4 separate regions of the Homo sapiens genome follow, and all the other regions are linked to region 1. Evidence: promoter capture Hi-C in 16 types of primary human blood cells and fetal thymus (Javierre and others, 2016). All regions are on one chromosome and are shown on one strand. Each heading gives the region's core, a stretch centred on a gene start or on the middle of the fragment in contact. The rest is flanking DNA. Distances are from core to core; before and after follow the strand shown. Region 1 holds the start of TP53BP2 (tumor protein p53 binding protein 2). Region 2 overlaps MIA3 (MIA SH3 domain ER export factor 3). Region 3 holds the start of LBR (lamin B receptor). Region 4 overlaps MIA3 (MIA SH3 domain ER export factor 3).

Region 1 (3,144 bases), core at 541-3,040:
CTTACCTTGACCACCATATTTAAAGTTGCACCTGTACACCTTATCCCCTTCTCTTACCTTATTCTATTTTTTTCACAATAACTACACTTGTCTTTTGAACTTTTTGTTCATTGATGTATCCCTAGGACTTAGAAGAATATCTACCAAGTGGCAGGTATTTAATAAATATTTACTGAATGAGGGATGAATTTATTTTGCTTAACTCAGTATAACCCTCTTAAGAAAACAAGACTATAAACCAGATTTTTTGAGAACGTTAAATTCTTTTTTTTTTTTTCAGATGGAGTTTCACTCTCGTTGCCCAGGCTGAAGTGCAGTGGGGTGATCTCTGCTCATTGCAACCTCCGCTTCCCAGGTTCAAGAGATTCTCCTGCCTCAGCCTCCCGAGTAGCTGGCATTACAGGCATGCGCCACCATGCCCGGCTAATTTTTATATTTTTAGTAGAGACAAGGGTTTCACCACGTGGCCAGGCTGGTCTCGAACTCCTGACCTCAGGTGATCTGCCCGCCTCGGCCTCCCAAAGTGCTGGGATTACAGGCGTGAGCCACTGCGCCCGGGCGAGAACGTTAAATTCTAGTTGAATTAACCGTAATTTAGTATTTCCAGATACAGTATCTGGGATGGTGCAATAGGGAGTTCGATGGAGATTCTGGTAAGGGATATGGTGGGCTAAGAAAGAATTGTCTGTTCTTGATACTAGATAAACCCAGGGGATTTACCCCACTTCAGGTTCTAGAATCATGTATAAAGGCAGAGAAAAGTGATTCTGAGTGAACTTGCACTGACAACTTACTAGAACAAAGCTTCCTGGAGTTAGGGTTCCCGCAGTATGTGTCTCTCTGGAAGGTGGAATAAAAGCCTGAACCCGCTCTGCTACTCTTTGGAAGGCAGCCCTGCCATTTCCCTAGGCCTTGGCCTCCCTCCCTGGAAAAGGATGGTATCCACCGGCTCCCCGTATCGGAGGCTGTTTGCAGGGTGTTCCCAGCACCCCCCAGGGAAGCTCCTCAGAATGCTGCCTGACACATTTTTACAAAATTTATTTTTATTGTGGTAAAACATACACAACATAAAAGTTATCCCTTTATCCAGTTTGCGGTGTACGTTTGTTAACCTTACAGCAAGTAACACATGAGTTTTAAATTAGAATTTGGACAACGGCAAATGAGATGAAAGGCGAACAATCCGAAAGCCGGATCACTGAGGAGCTCTGGGAACGCGCCGCGAGCTGAAGCCACACGGGGAACTCCATTTTGTCGGGACAGGGTCGGTCCTGGCCGCCTCCAGGGAGTCGGGTAGTTTCCGCGGCGTGGCCCGGGCCTCCCCTGAAGTCCGTCCGCCTCTCTCCGCCTGGCCCAGCGGCGCGGCCGCCGGAGGACTCTGTCCACGCGCCCAACGTCGGGCGCCCTGTTCTGAAGGCAAAGGGTCCCCTGCCTCGCACGACTCGGAGCCGCCGAGGAGGTGACGGCGGCAGCCCTGGGGCGGCTCGGTGCCATTCACTACCATCCTGTTTTCCTGAGGCGCGGCCTTCCAATTGCCCCGGCTCCGCTAGGAGGCGCGCGCTCCAGCCGCTCCGCCGCGCGGCCCCGACCGCACTTCAGTCCGGGGCGAAGAAAGAAAAGGCGGCCGGCTCCCGCCGCTCCCCGTCTACCCAGCCGGGCCCGCGCAGGCGCGCGCAGCTCCCGTTCCCGCGGCCGCCCCTCCCCCAGGCCGCCGGGCGCGCCGCGGGCGGGGTCGGCGCGGGGGGCGGAGCCGGCACGGGCTCGGCTGGGGCCCGACCCGGGATTAGTTGGTTTCGGAGCGGAGGAGGGAGCCCCGACCGTCACGAGCGTCGAAGAGACAAAGCCGCGTCAGGGGGCCCGGCCGGGGCGGGGGAGCCCGGGGCTTGTTGGTGCCCCAGCCCGCGCGGAGGGCCCTTCGGACCCGCGCGCCGCCGCTGCCGCCGCCGCCGCCTCGCAACAGGTCCGGGCGGCCTCGCTCTCCGCTCCCCTCCCCCGCATCCGCGACCCTCCGGGGCACCTCAGCTCGGCCGGGGCCGCAGTCTGGCCACCCGCTTCCATGCGGTTCGGGTCCAAGATGATGCCGGTAAGTGGGCGAGCGGCCAGGGCGTCGGGCCCGGAAGTGTGCGGGGTCGCGTGCCGGGGGCTGGTCCGCGCCCTCGGGCGCGTCGGGGAAGGAGCCTGGGGGCCGCAGCCCGCGCGGAGGGGCCGGGGCTTTCCGAGCTTCGAGCGGGTTTCAGGAAGGGGAGGCTCCATCCTCTGGGCTCTGCGCCCACAGCCGTCGTGGGGGCGCGGCGAGACCCTAACCTCGAGGCGGGTTCCTCCAGCTGCTCCGGAGTCAGGCGAGCCGCCCGCGAGCCCAGCAGCCACTCAAACTTTTCGTCTTTCACTGGGTCTTGACTTTTTTGCAGTTCTTGAAGGTCAAGAATACGGGAACCGGGGACCTTGTTCTTTGCTGTGTCTTTTTACTTTTTACTGGAGTGAAACATACGTTACTGGAACGGGTACCTTTGCTTTGTTTTTAATTGAATTTCGATCTTGATATCCACAGTAGCAGCTAAGTCACCCTTACCTCTTTGTGGAAAGGGGTTTTGGTAAATGCAATCTCGGAAGTTTTAGATTGCAGGAAAGCGTACGTGCCTGGCTCCCTTCGTTTCCCACAGCTTTTAGCAAGACCTCCGGAGAGGATTAGTGCCTTCTTTAGGAGCTCCGCAGGCTTTTGACACGGCCACCAGGCCACAGATGAACAGCAGGTTTGAGACATTTCAGAAATGTCTCTGTCATTCAGCGATCGCGGAATGGAGGTTTGCGGTGTGTTGCGGTGGCTTCTGCAGACTTCAGTAGCGAGTTTCTTCGTGGAAGTTGTATTTGCACCTCTCCCACTGAAGTGGGGACATCTTGCAGGCATCCTATGCTTGTGGCTCCATTTGTTCAGACAAAGAAACAAAAAGCTTTTACTTTTATGAAGTCTGTGGAATGGAGTGATGACAAAGTTTGCAGTCATACATACAGAGTATAATATGCTGTTCCCTGGCCCCCTGCTTGTGTCATGGAGGGCGTCCCAAACTCTCACTGGGTCGACTTAACAATTCACTAGAATTAGTAATTGGGTTTAGAGGGTTTGGGATATTTTGTCCTGCCAGGATT
Region 2 (3,409 bases), core at 50-2,549, 1.2 Mb after region 1:
TGCCAACAAAATCAGTCTATTTTCCCCAAGGGGATTTCTCAAGCCTTATTTTCTCTTTGTTTGTTTGGTGTTTTACTGACAGTGAAAACTTTCATAGTCGGGATGGGTATTTCTCTAAGTTGGGACAATCCTAAAGATATCGAGGACCCTTACTACTTGAAGTAAAGACACAGTCCACATATCACGCTTTCTAAAAAGGAAAGGACAATAACTCATAAGACAGGCCTCTCAATCAGGTCACTCCCAGTGAATCTCCTCATTAAAAATACCAAAGCATGATGCAGTCATTGATTGCCAGGTCTGATAGCAGGGTACCCATAAAATCAGCTGGGAATCAATCCCCTGGGGTAACCTCCAGACACAAGTGTCTGAAAAGCAGGACAAGGATGACCCCAAGGCTGCAAACAAAAATACAAACAAGAGGCTGGTTGCGGTGGCTCACGCCTGTAATCCCAGCACTTTGGGAGGTCAAGGTGGGTGGATCACAAGGTCAGGAGATCGAGACCTAGCTAACACAGTGAAACCCCGTCTCTACTAAAAAAATACAAAAAATTAGCCGTGTGGTGGCAGGCACCTGCAGCCCCAGCTACTCGGGAGGCTGAGGCAGGAGAATGGCGTGAACCCGGGAGGCGGAGCTTGCAGTGAGCCGAGATCGCGCCACGGCACTCCAGCCTGGGCGACAGAGCAAGACTCCGCCTCAAAAAAAAAAAAACAAACAAACAAGAAAGCACACGAGAAACAACATTTTGCTTTTTTACAGACTTATAATAGCACAGATGATTAGGGAACTGTTCCCAAGACTGCCACTTTTTCATAAATAATAATATAAACAAAGAAATACACATAAAATCAACTTTAAGCTTACATGCCTGAAACACTCTCTCACATATAGTTTACAGGAGTAAGTCTAATTCCTATGAATACTTCCTTTTTAAAGCAATGAAGTATTTTTCAGCTCTTACCATTTCAACCTCTAATACGTATGCAGCATCCTAGAGGTTGACCCTGAGGGGAACTTGCCAGAATCAGTTCTATTTCAGAAGGCTCTGCTGAGCCCCTACTCTGTGCAGACCCAAGGCCTGCTGGGGACACAGGGCCATCTTTTTTCACAGTCAGGCAGAGAGGACAAGTTAACTCCATCAAAGGTCCCAAGAAAATGCAGTCATTTAACTCTACAGTGCTAAAGAAGCCAATAAAAATTAAGCAAATAAAGTATGTCGATATTTTACTTACACTTCCAGCCCAAACTTCAGGCCATCCTCTTGCCAGTTTATAGTAAACATATACAGGATCACCTTTTTTAAAATTCACAAAACGACAATCCGGGCCTGTGAAATCTTCAAGAGCCTCACCGCGGTACATTAACACTGTATATAAAGAGAGAGAAAAAAAATAGCCAGATATCAGGATTCAGTGTTCACAGTGCATATTGATTTATCAGGAAATATAAGAATCCCACTATAAACAACAACCAAGTTTTTCCAGTACTCTCTGGAATTTCTTTCATATGCTCAAAGTATCTCAAATCCTTTGAGCTTTACTGCTATAAATCATACCTTCTGCAAGCAGACAAGGGAAAGGAAAACCTTCTCTATTTTTCTCTATGGATAATACTGAGAAACAAAAAGCAATGTGCCAACTACCACACATGGCTTTTCTCACCCAAGTGAAACTCTCGATTCCCTCTCTAACCTTCTAGTCCTCAATCTTTTCTGTTTCATATTCATAAAAAGCTTCCTTTTGCAAATGGGTAAATTCAAGCCCAGATGATGATTAACTTAAGCATGGCTACATGAACGGGTAATAGGGAACTAGAGTACCCAGGAACCCCCAAGAGGTCAATTAACTTGAACTAACCACTAAAAGGGTCTATCTTCAAGTGACTGTAACCAGTACTATGTAGCAGTAAACACTGTCAATTTCATTTGCAGCCAAGTTGTTCCCTTAGTACAGTGTCTGGATAAATTAATGGGAAAAGATATCTATCACACCCTACTATAGATTCAATTACATCACAAGGCAATATTTTCTGAAAGTAAATAATGTTGACTGTATCCAAAATTAAGTTTCAAAACAAAGGAAAGAATACCCTTATGTATATTTTTCTATAAACAAAATCAAAAGTCGACATCTCATTTGGCTGGGACTAAGCAAAACTATGAGAATAGGTCAGTAATTCAATCACGCTTGATCTAGAAACTGGCTGAAGCAGTACTTTTATTTTTGTTGACCACATACACAGTTTCCCATGTAAGATGAAATGGACAATAAATACATCTAAATAGCAGAGACAAAGAAGGACGAATAGAAATAAGATTTTTTCCAAAAGCCAATTTGCAATAAAATACATTAAAAACGTGCCTTTAAATGGCTATACACGCATATAGATTTGGAAGGGGCTACTTGTTTTTTGAAGCTAAACTCTGATTACTTTCCAACATGTCAGCTTTGTAGCTCAGATATAATTGAGTGTGAGGCCAGGTTTAAGATGATGGACAATTTAAGGTTGGGAATAAGATCAGAATTGAAAATGGCAATGTTTCTTTTGCTCCCCCTTACAATAGATCATAGAGGATTTATAATAATATTTGAGATGCCAACAAAATGCACCCTGTGGAACAGCTATTTGAAAACCACACAAGGGCACCGTACATACTCACATTACTAAACACTTTCTACAACACAACACAGACCCATCTAGACCTTGCTCCTGTTGATGCCTATTGTATTTGGTTTCCTCTGAACACGTACCATTTCTCAAGTTATGTTACAACCGTGAGCTCTTCTAACATCATGCCTCAGTACTGAAGAAGCATCAGTGATGTGATGATTCTCCAGGTAACCTGTTTTGAGGAACCCAGGCAGGGCAATGCTTGCAAGCAAAGAATACCAACTATCTTGCCATTGCCAACGGCAAATGGGTAACAGCGTGGCTTTGACCCAAGAAAACTAAAGGGAAAAATCATGGCAGTTGTACCGCTTTTGTAGTGTTTATTTACATCAACCACAGGGTTATCTCTAGGAATGGCTTCACACTCATTAGAGATCTCTTTTCTTGATTAGTGTTGTAGAGATACAAACAGTTCATATTATGAAATTCGGTTTTGATAACATCAATTTGAATATAAATAGCTAAACCATAGAGTTCTTGGCCTTCTTAAAATGAATACGTTTCTATAGGCATTGCTTAACAGTGTATGAAAAACCGTTTCTGCAGTGGCTATCAGTAAGTTACAAGGTTGAGACGGTCTGGGAGGCCCTAAAATGATCCTGGTCCGGCGAACATAGAGGGAAGAGGTTTCAACACGCAAGCGGCTAAGGCTAAACCAAGCTTGGCTTATGAGACCCTTGGAGTATTTACTGTCATTCCTGTAATAACCTTCTTCATCTGAGCCTGAAGATCTGTGCC
Region 3 (3,020 bases), core at 218-2,717, 1.6 Mb before region 1:
AGGAAGGAAATCAACTAACCGATAATGAAAACTAGCAGAAAAAAAAAAGCTTAGGATCCGTAACAGATTCGGAGTCAACAATGACATGACTCAGCATTTTGGGGTTCAATTAAAACCAGGCTTGTAGGTTGCAGGTCAAGTTGTGTTTCGGTGTGTAACGCATAAAACTTCTTGTTCCACGCTCCGCGGTGTTGGGGATTTTCTACTGCATCTCGACAGCATCTCGGGTAACAACCGAGCCCCTCCTCGCAGCGTAAGTCGTAGGAGCCCTCGGCCATTCTTCCCCCTCCCTCCCGCCGCCGGTCCCAGCATCGGTCCGGGTTCGCTTCTACGCAGGTTCAGCGGCCGCGGACACAAAAGCGCCCCTGCTCGCCTTCGATGCCGCTGCTTGGTCCAGGGGCTTCTGTGGGATTTTAACACGCTAAGGAGGGCACTCATAGTGTTTTACCGAGAAACGCTTTCGAGCTCGGATCTTTGGTGATCACTTCAAGAATGTATTAGTTTTCTTTGTAGCTTAAAAAAAAATCTCGTTCGCCAAGCCACCTGGCACCCCAAACACTGCTGCGAGCGCTGGGAGGGAAAGGGCGGGAGCGCGCGGGCTCCGTGTGCTGCGAGGGCGCCTGGGCGGCTGAGATAAGGCGGTGGCAAACGTCGCGCTCCGGGCCGCCCCGCCAGACTCGGTTTCCCCCGCTCACCGGCCTCCCCGCCCCCAGGCAGGGTGGGGCGGGGCGGACGCGCCACGGCGCGCGACCAATCGACAGCGCCGGGGATGATTCAAAAGGTCGAGGAGCCAATGGGAGCCCCGGGCGGCCTCGCCGGTGGGGAGGGGAGGCGAGGGGAGGGGAGAAGCGCCGCGAGGCGGGGCCGGGGAGGCGCGCGCCCGGCTTGCGGGACTGCGGGGCGCGAGAGCGCGGCCGGGTAGCGTCGCGCGCGTGGATCTGCCGCCGGGTTGCTGTGCGACTATTCTCCGGGAGCCGTCCGTGTCACCGCCGGAACCTGGCGCAGGTGAGTGCTTCCACCCCCGCCCTGCTCCCAGCTCCCCGCGGCGCGTTCTTCGAGGGGCCGCTGGGGGAGGAAGCCCGAGGCCGGCGCAGCGGCCGGGCCGGGGACCCTGGGCGCGGGGCCTGGCGCGGCGGCCTTCCCCTCCTCTCCTCGCCTCCTCGTCTCCTCCCCTCCTCGCCTTTTCTGGCCCAGTCGGGTGGTCGGGGCGGCGGCGGGCGAGGCTGGAGCTCGCCCGAGCCGGGCCCGCTGCGGAAATGGAGCTGGGGGTTTTAAACTGCGGACGTTTCCCTCCATGTTGGCGGCGCGGCGCGGCTGTGGAGCGGCGGCGGCAGGGAGGGTTCGTGGGCGCCTTTGTCCTGCCCCACCGCAGCCTGGCTCCCGGCCCCTCCGAGCGCCCGTCTGACAGATGAGCAGGCGGCCCCGCGGTCCTGCAGTAGGAGGCTGACAGGGCGCGGCGGCCTGGCGGGACGGGGAAGGGTCTGCGGCCGAGGTGGGCTTAGATTCGCGCTGCTTGTCACTGGCTTTGAGGGTCGTGGTCGTCGCGGTTTGGTGATTCTCCAGGCACACTGCATGGCTGCTCGCTCCTATGCGTTGAATTCCTTCGCCCGGACAGTCTCAAAAATCGGGTATTTAGGCGGGTGTGCGTGTTCCTGCTAAAGCACGGTCCTGCTTTTTCACCTTTTTGAGGGTTCAGAAAAATGTTCTAATGACAGCCAGCCTCGCACTGCCAGTAGCCTCAAGGGGCACTTAGTAAAGCACTTGCTTTCGGAGGGCTTTGTTGAAGGCGCTTTCCCAGAGTGATTACGGGGCCCGGTCGGGTGTTCACACGAGGGCGCGGTAGATACCGTGGTCCGCGCGTGGACACCTGCAGCGCGAGGCGCGGCGCCTGGGCAGTGCCAGGGTGAACAGGCCCCCGGGGACCTTGCACGTAAACACGTGTAGATCTGTAGTTACGCATTGTAGTAACTGGTGTGTGGGAGAAGATGGAGCTACGGAGAAGAGCAGAGGGATCCTAATTTAGATTAGGCAACAAGTCCAGTTTAAGTTTTGTTTCTCAGGCTGCCTGGGAAGAGGGAGAAGAACGAGCAGGAGGGGAATGATGAGCTGCCCAAGGATGTTTATGGGGAAGAAGGCGCTTCTGCCTTTACAGCCAGGAAGGTGGCCTTTCTGTTGCTTCATGAAGCAAAGGGCGCGGAGCAAGGCCCGGGGTTCCTGTTTGCATTTTGCCTAGTGGGGCTACCGGGGCTCAGGTGTGAAAAGGAAGCTGTCCAACGTCATTCGAGCGTCTTGCTCTATGCCACGTTTAGATGAATTTGGAGAAGTGAAGGAAAGATGGCTGGAGACCCCTGTAATGTTAATGAGCAGAGAATTGTTGTGTTCACAAACAGTAACATACCGGAGCTGGAATGTGTGAGGATTGCAGTGCCAGTTGACTCTGAAGTTAGCGGGCATCTGGCTTAATAGAGAAAAACCTGAGGGTCTCCGTGTTTTTCCTGTTTATGGCGAATGAGGACATTGGGTGCAGTGAACAAAATTTTTCTTTACAAACACACTTGCCTAAAACATCTCTTGTAAGAAAATCCTGTGTGTATCTTGACTCCTGTAGGTGAGTGCATAGTGAGTGACACGAACAAATGTGGGGCTTTTGTGTGCCATCCTGGCTATTTCACTCCTGTGGGGGAATATATTAGGATGTGATTGCACTGTATCCTCACGTTTGACAATTGTGTGTGGATCTTGTGTAAAGTGGGGGTGCACATCATGTTGTTGGCTTCATCTTTTGGAACATTTGTGTATAAGATAATGGTCTTCTAAGAAGAATGCCGGTTCATTTTGTTTGTTTTTCAAGCAAATCTTAATTCTTCTTTTAAAAAGTAAGCTTTAGAGACCTAACAGGTATCCACCATATGTGTTAACTTGTTTAACCCAGAATAATTGATAAGAATCTTTTTGGCACTGGCCTGCGTTTATATTACACAGATACTGTGTATGTGGTGTGTAAGTGCAATGGAAAGATG
Region 4 (3,376 bases), core at 690-3,189, 1.2 Mb after region 1:
TAAGATACACACCTCTTTTGCTCTCCAGAAAACATCTCAGAAATCCTACTCAAAGTTGACTACTGGCTGAATTTAAAAATAATGCTATAAATACTAAGCTAGATTATGTGATTTTCCTAGACCACTAAAAACAGTGCTCATAAACCTGACAGGGAAGAGAAGACTACTAGAGGAAAATGCATAAGCAACAAGAGAAATGACAACTATCATCTTCCTGAAAGGGCACCCAAATCATCCCCCAAAGACAGCACTAAATTATAGGACAAGAAAATCTAAGCAGTAACTAATATTGTAAAAAGAATATTACTAAATTTCTTTGCAACCCAGAACATATTTTCCCTTTCAAATGTTATGTTGATGAGATACTAACACCAGTCCACAAATCATCCATAAGCTCAGTAAATATACTGTTTACATAATATACTGTATTACTGTATACAATAATTAATATACTGTATACATAATAATTCCAGTATCTAAATCTCACTTATAATACCATTGTTATAGGAATATGCATTCAGAAAATTCCAACATGGAAAGAAATTACTATCTCTCTAATGTCATGGCCTTGCTAATTCCTCTGCTCCATTTCACCCAAACTAACAGGCAAGCAGAGACCAAGGTTCCAAAAGTCAAGTGCTGAGGCTGAGGAACAGCAGTTAGGACACAGAGCCTATATAACTTTCTGAAAAACGAAAAAGGCGTTAGAATTTTTTTATTAACAAATAGGAGAAACAAGAGTGGGAAATGTAAAATGTTTTCAACTTTTCCCCTTCCATTTACCCTTTGATTCTCCCTTTTTATCTGAAGAAAAGCACCAGGAGGTTAGAGAAGGCCTCACAGGAAAAAAGACCCTTCTTTTTAAGTAATTTTACAATCAATTGTGAGAGAAAATTTATTAATGATGATATATGTGATATAATTATGAAATCAGAAAAAGAGTACTCAGTTTTAGAAAGATTTGCATCCAATAATTTTGGCCATTTTAACTGTGAAGTTTCAATACAAAGCTTTTCATCTGCAAAGCTCATTTACACAAATAATCTTCTCCCAATTATGTTAAATAACTATGCAGCTGAATGCTATATAGTATAATCATAAGGATGTACAAGTATGAGTATACACACTTATACAAACATGTTTAAGTCTGAAAGGCAAATTCTGCACAGAAGATAAAAAAATTAACGGTGTGTCTTTACACATGATATAATTTGCATTTCGAAATAAAAAGATATTTTCTGAGTAAAATAGTACATGATGAAATCAGAAAATCTGGAAAATACACATTTTTTAAAAACTGAAAACTTACCTCATCTCCTAGATATAAGAATTTTTATCATTTTATTGTATTTCCTTGCAGCATTTATTTTCTGTGTGTATGTTTATGTAATATACAGTTTATCTATACCTTAAAGTCTTGGTTTCTACTTTTTTTCTACTTCATGTTAAATTGTGAGTATTTGTTGTGCTCCTATGTCTTTGAATTATATAAAGCAGCCTAATATCCCATTATATGAACATACAATAATTTAACAATTTTCCCACTGTGAATCACAGTAGGTTGTGTCAAAGTTTTCACTCTAATAAATACTGTTCTACTGAATGCTCTCATGTAAGATATTTAAAACTTTTTTTTGAGACAGAGTCTCACTTTGTCGCCTAGGCTGGAGTGCAGTGGCATGATCTGCTTCCCCAGTTCAAGCGATTCTCCTGCCTCAGCCTCCCAAGTAGCTGGGATTACAGGCTCCTGCCACCACCCCCGGCTAAGTTTTGTATTTTTAGTAGAGATGGGGTTTTGTCTTGTTGGTCAGGCTGGTCTCAAACTCCTGGCCTTATGTGATCCACCCGCCTCCGCCTCCCAAAGTGCTGGTATTACAGGTGTGAGCCACCACGCCCGGCCATGTAAGATATTTAATGCATGATTGGTTATTTCTTTCTTTCTTTTTTTTTTTTTTTGAGATGGAGTCTCACTCTGTCACCCAGGCTGGAGTGCAGTGGCACATCTCAGCTCACTGCAGCCTCCGCCTCCCAGGTTCAAGCGATTCTCTGCCTCAGCATCCCGAGTAGCTGGGATTACAGGCATGTGCCACAACACCTGGCTAATTTTCGTATTTTTAGAAGAGATGGGGTTTCATCATGTTGGCTAAGCTGGTCTCGAACTCCTGGCCTCAAGTGATCCGCCTGCCTCGGACTCTCAAAGTGCTGGGATTACAGGTGTGAGCCACTGTGCCGGCTGACTGGTTATTTCTTTAGGATCGATTACTAGACATGACATTAATACAATATAAAAGGATATAACCATTTTTAAGGCTTATCATACACATCATGAAACTATTTTTCAGGATGGCTCTAAGAATTCCTAGTTCTACTAACAGTGTACATATGACCTATCTAATTCTTTCTTTTCATCCTTTGTGAGTTGAAATACAGACCCACCTAATTCTTAAAATTTAGACTTTGATATGAGACATATAAACTGAAGTTTTCCCACTGAGATTATACATGTTGTCTTATTCACTTAAGAATTTACCAACACAAAAATTATACTAAATTATTTTACAAGGTTAGCTTGAATTAAAAGCATTAATTTCTGTTCATATTAGAAACTGAAAAAGAAACAAAAGGACTGTGATTATAAAACCATACTTGAATTTATGAGTTAAAGTATGCATTAATTTACTCACAACAAGGACAGTTCTCCATAAGAAAATGGCAAACGAAGCAATTCCCAAGAAGGCAGTGATAAATACAGGTTTCCATGGCAGTCCATAAAAATCAGGCCCAGGCTGAACATCATCAGGCAATGTAGCAACTAGCTGAATGTTAGAAATAATGTTAGAAATAATGAGAAACCTTAAAGAAGCTTACCATAAAGCAGTCACAAAGACTCATTCACAGAAATTCTAAACCAACTCTATCAGATACCTATCCCCTCAAAAATCTTCAGTAGCTCTCACTGCTTTAAGAAAAACAGGATACTGGGAGTCTCATACTTATTGTTTGGCCTGTGGTGTTTTGAAGTACTATGACTCTAAATGTCTTTAGGTTGGGCATATATTTCTAGTTTCAATAGGCCCTGATACAATATGTTATCTAAAACATGGCTGGAATCTCTCTGCATCATACTTTTGTCTTGAATAAATTGGTTTTTATTGCTTAAAAAACCACATAAGACAAAAAACCTTTTATATACAAGTAACTAACTTTTTATGGCTGCAAATAAAACCAATATGATGATAATGAATATCACAAATAACGTTTTATTCCTCTAAGATTTAAAATCTTAAATCGACTTACATAAACAAAGAACAAATGCTGACTAAGTTCGGATAGCTCCTGATAACTGATCTAGATAAACCGCTTTGAATTTAGTGCC

Evidence for each region. The method cuts DNA at HindIII sites, captures the fragments that hold promoters and counts their contacts. A CHiCAGO score of 5 or more calls a contact.
Region 2: a contact is called between a fragment that was not itself captured here and the fragment with the promoter of TP53BP2 in region 1, in 1 of 17 cell types (fetal thymus). The highest score is 7.8, in fetal thymus.
Region 3: a contact is called between a fragment that was not itself captured here and the fragment with the promoter of TP53BP2 in region 1, in 1 of 17 cell types (fetal thymus). The highest score is 7.1, in fetal thymus.
Region 4: a contact is called between a fragment that was not itself captured here and the fragment with the promoter of TP53BP2 in region 1, in 5 of 17 cell types (fetal thymus, naive CD4 T cells, total CD4 T cells and 2 more). The highest score is 11.2, in fetal thymus.

Annotation. Positions count from the first base shown.
Region 1 is chr1:223,844,593-223,847,736 of GRCh38, reverse strand. It overlaps TP53BP2 (tumor protein p53 binding protein 2), which reads left to right and starts at 1,790. Exons shown (of 18, transcript NM_001031685.3): 1 at 1,790-2,083. The coding sequence starts at 2,057. RefSeq lists a silencer at 1,653-1,962. The HindIII fragment of the contact is 2,144 bases long and covers 807-2,950 here.
Region 2 is chr1:222,619,117-222,622,525 of GRCh38, reverse strand. MIA3 (MIA SH3 domain ER export factor 3) reads right to left here. Exons shown (of 28, transcript NM_198551.4): 2 at 1,234-1,367. Among named protein-coding and RNA genes, the nearest start is that of MIA3, 2.7 kb to the right of the region's middle. RefSeq lists an enhancer at 3,389-3,409. The HindIII fragment of the contact is 873 bases long and covers 863-1,735 here.
Region 3 is chr1:225,425,939-225,428,958 of GRCh38, reverse strand. It overlaps LBR (lamin B receptor), which reads left to right and starts at 921. Exons shown (of 14, transcript NM_002296.4): 1 at 921-1,005. RefSeq lists a silencer at 505-1,334 and enhancers at 1,167-1,838, 1,839-2,511. The HindIII fragment of the contact is 2,832 bases long and covers 52-2,883 here.
Region 4 is chr1:222,644,994-222,648,369 of GRCh38, reverse strand. MIA3 (MIA SH3 domain ER export factor 3) reads right to left here. Exons shown (of 28, transcript NM_198551.4): 7 at 2,685-2,816. Among named protein-coding and RNA genes, the nearest start is that of MIA3, 29 kb to the right of the region's middle. RefSeq lists an enhancer at 3,314-3,376. The HindIII fragment of the contact is 1,853 bases long and covers 1,013-2,865 here.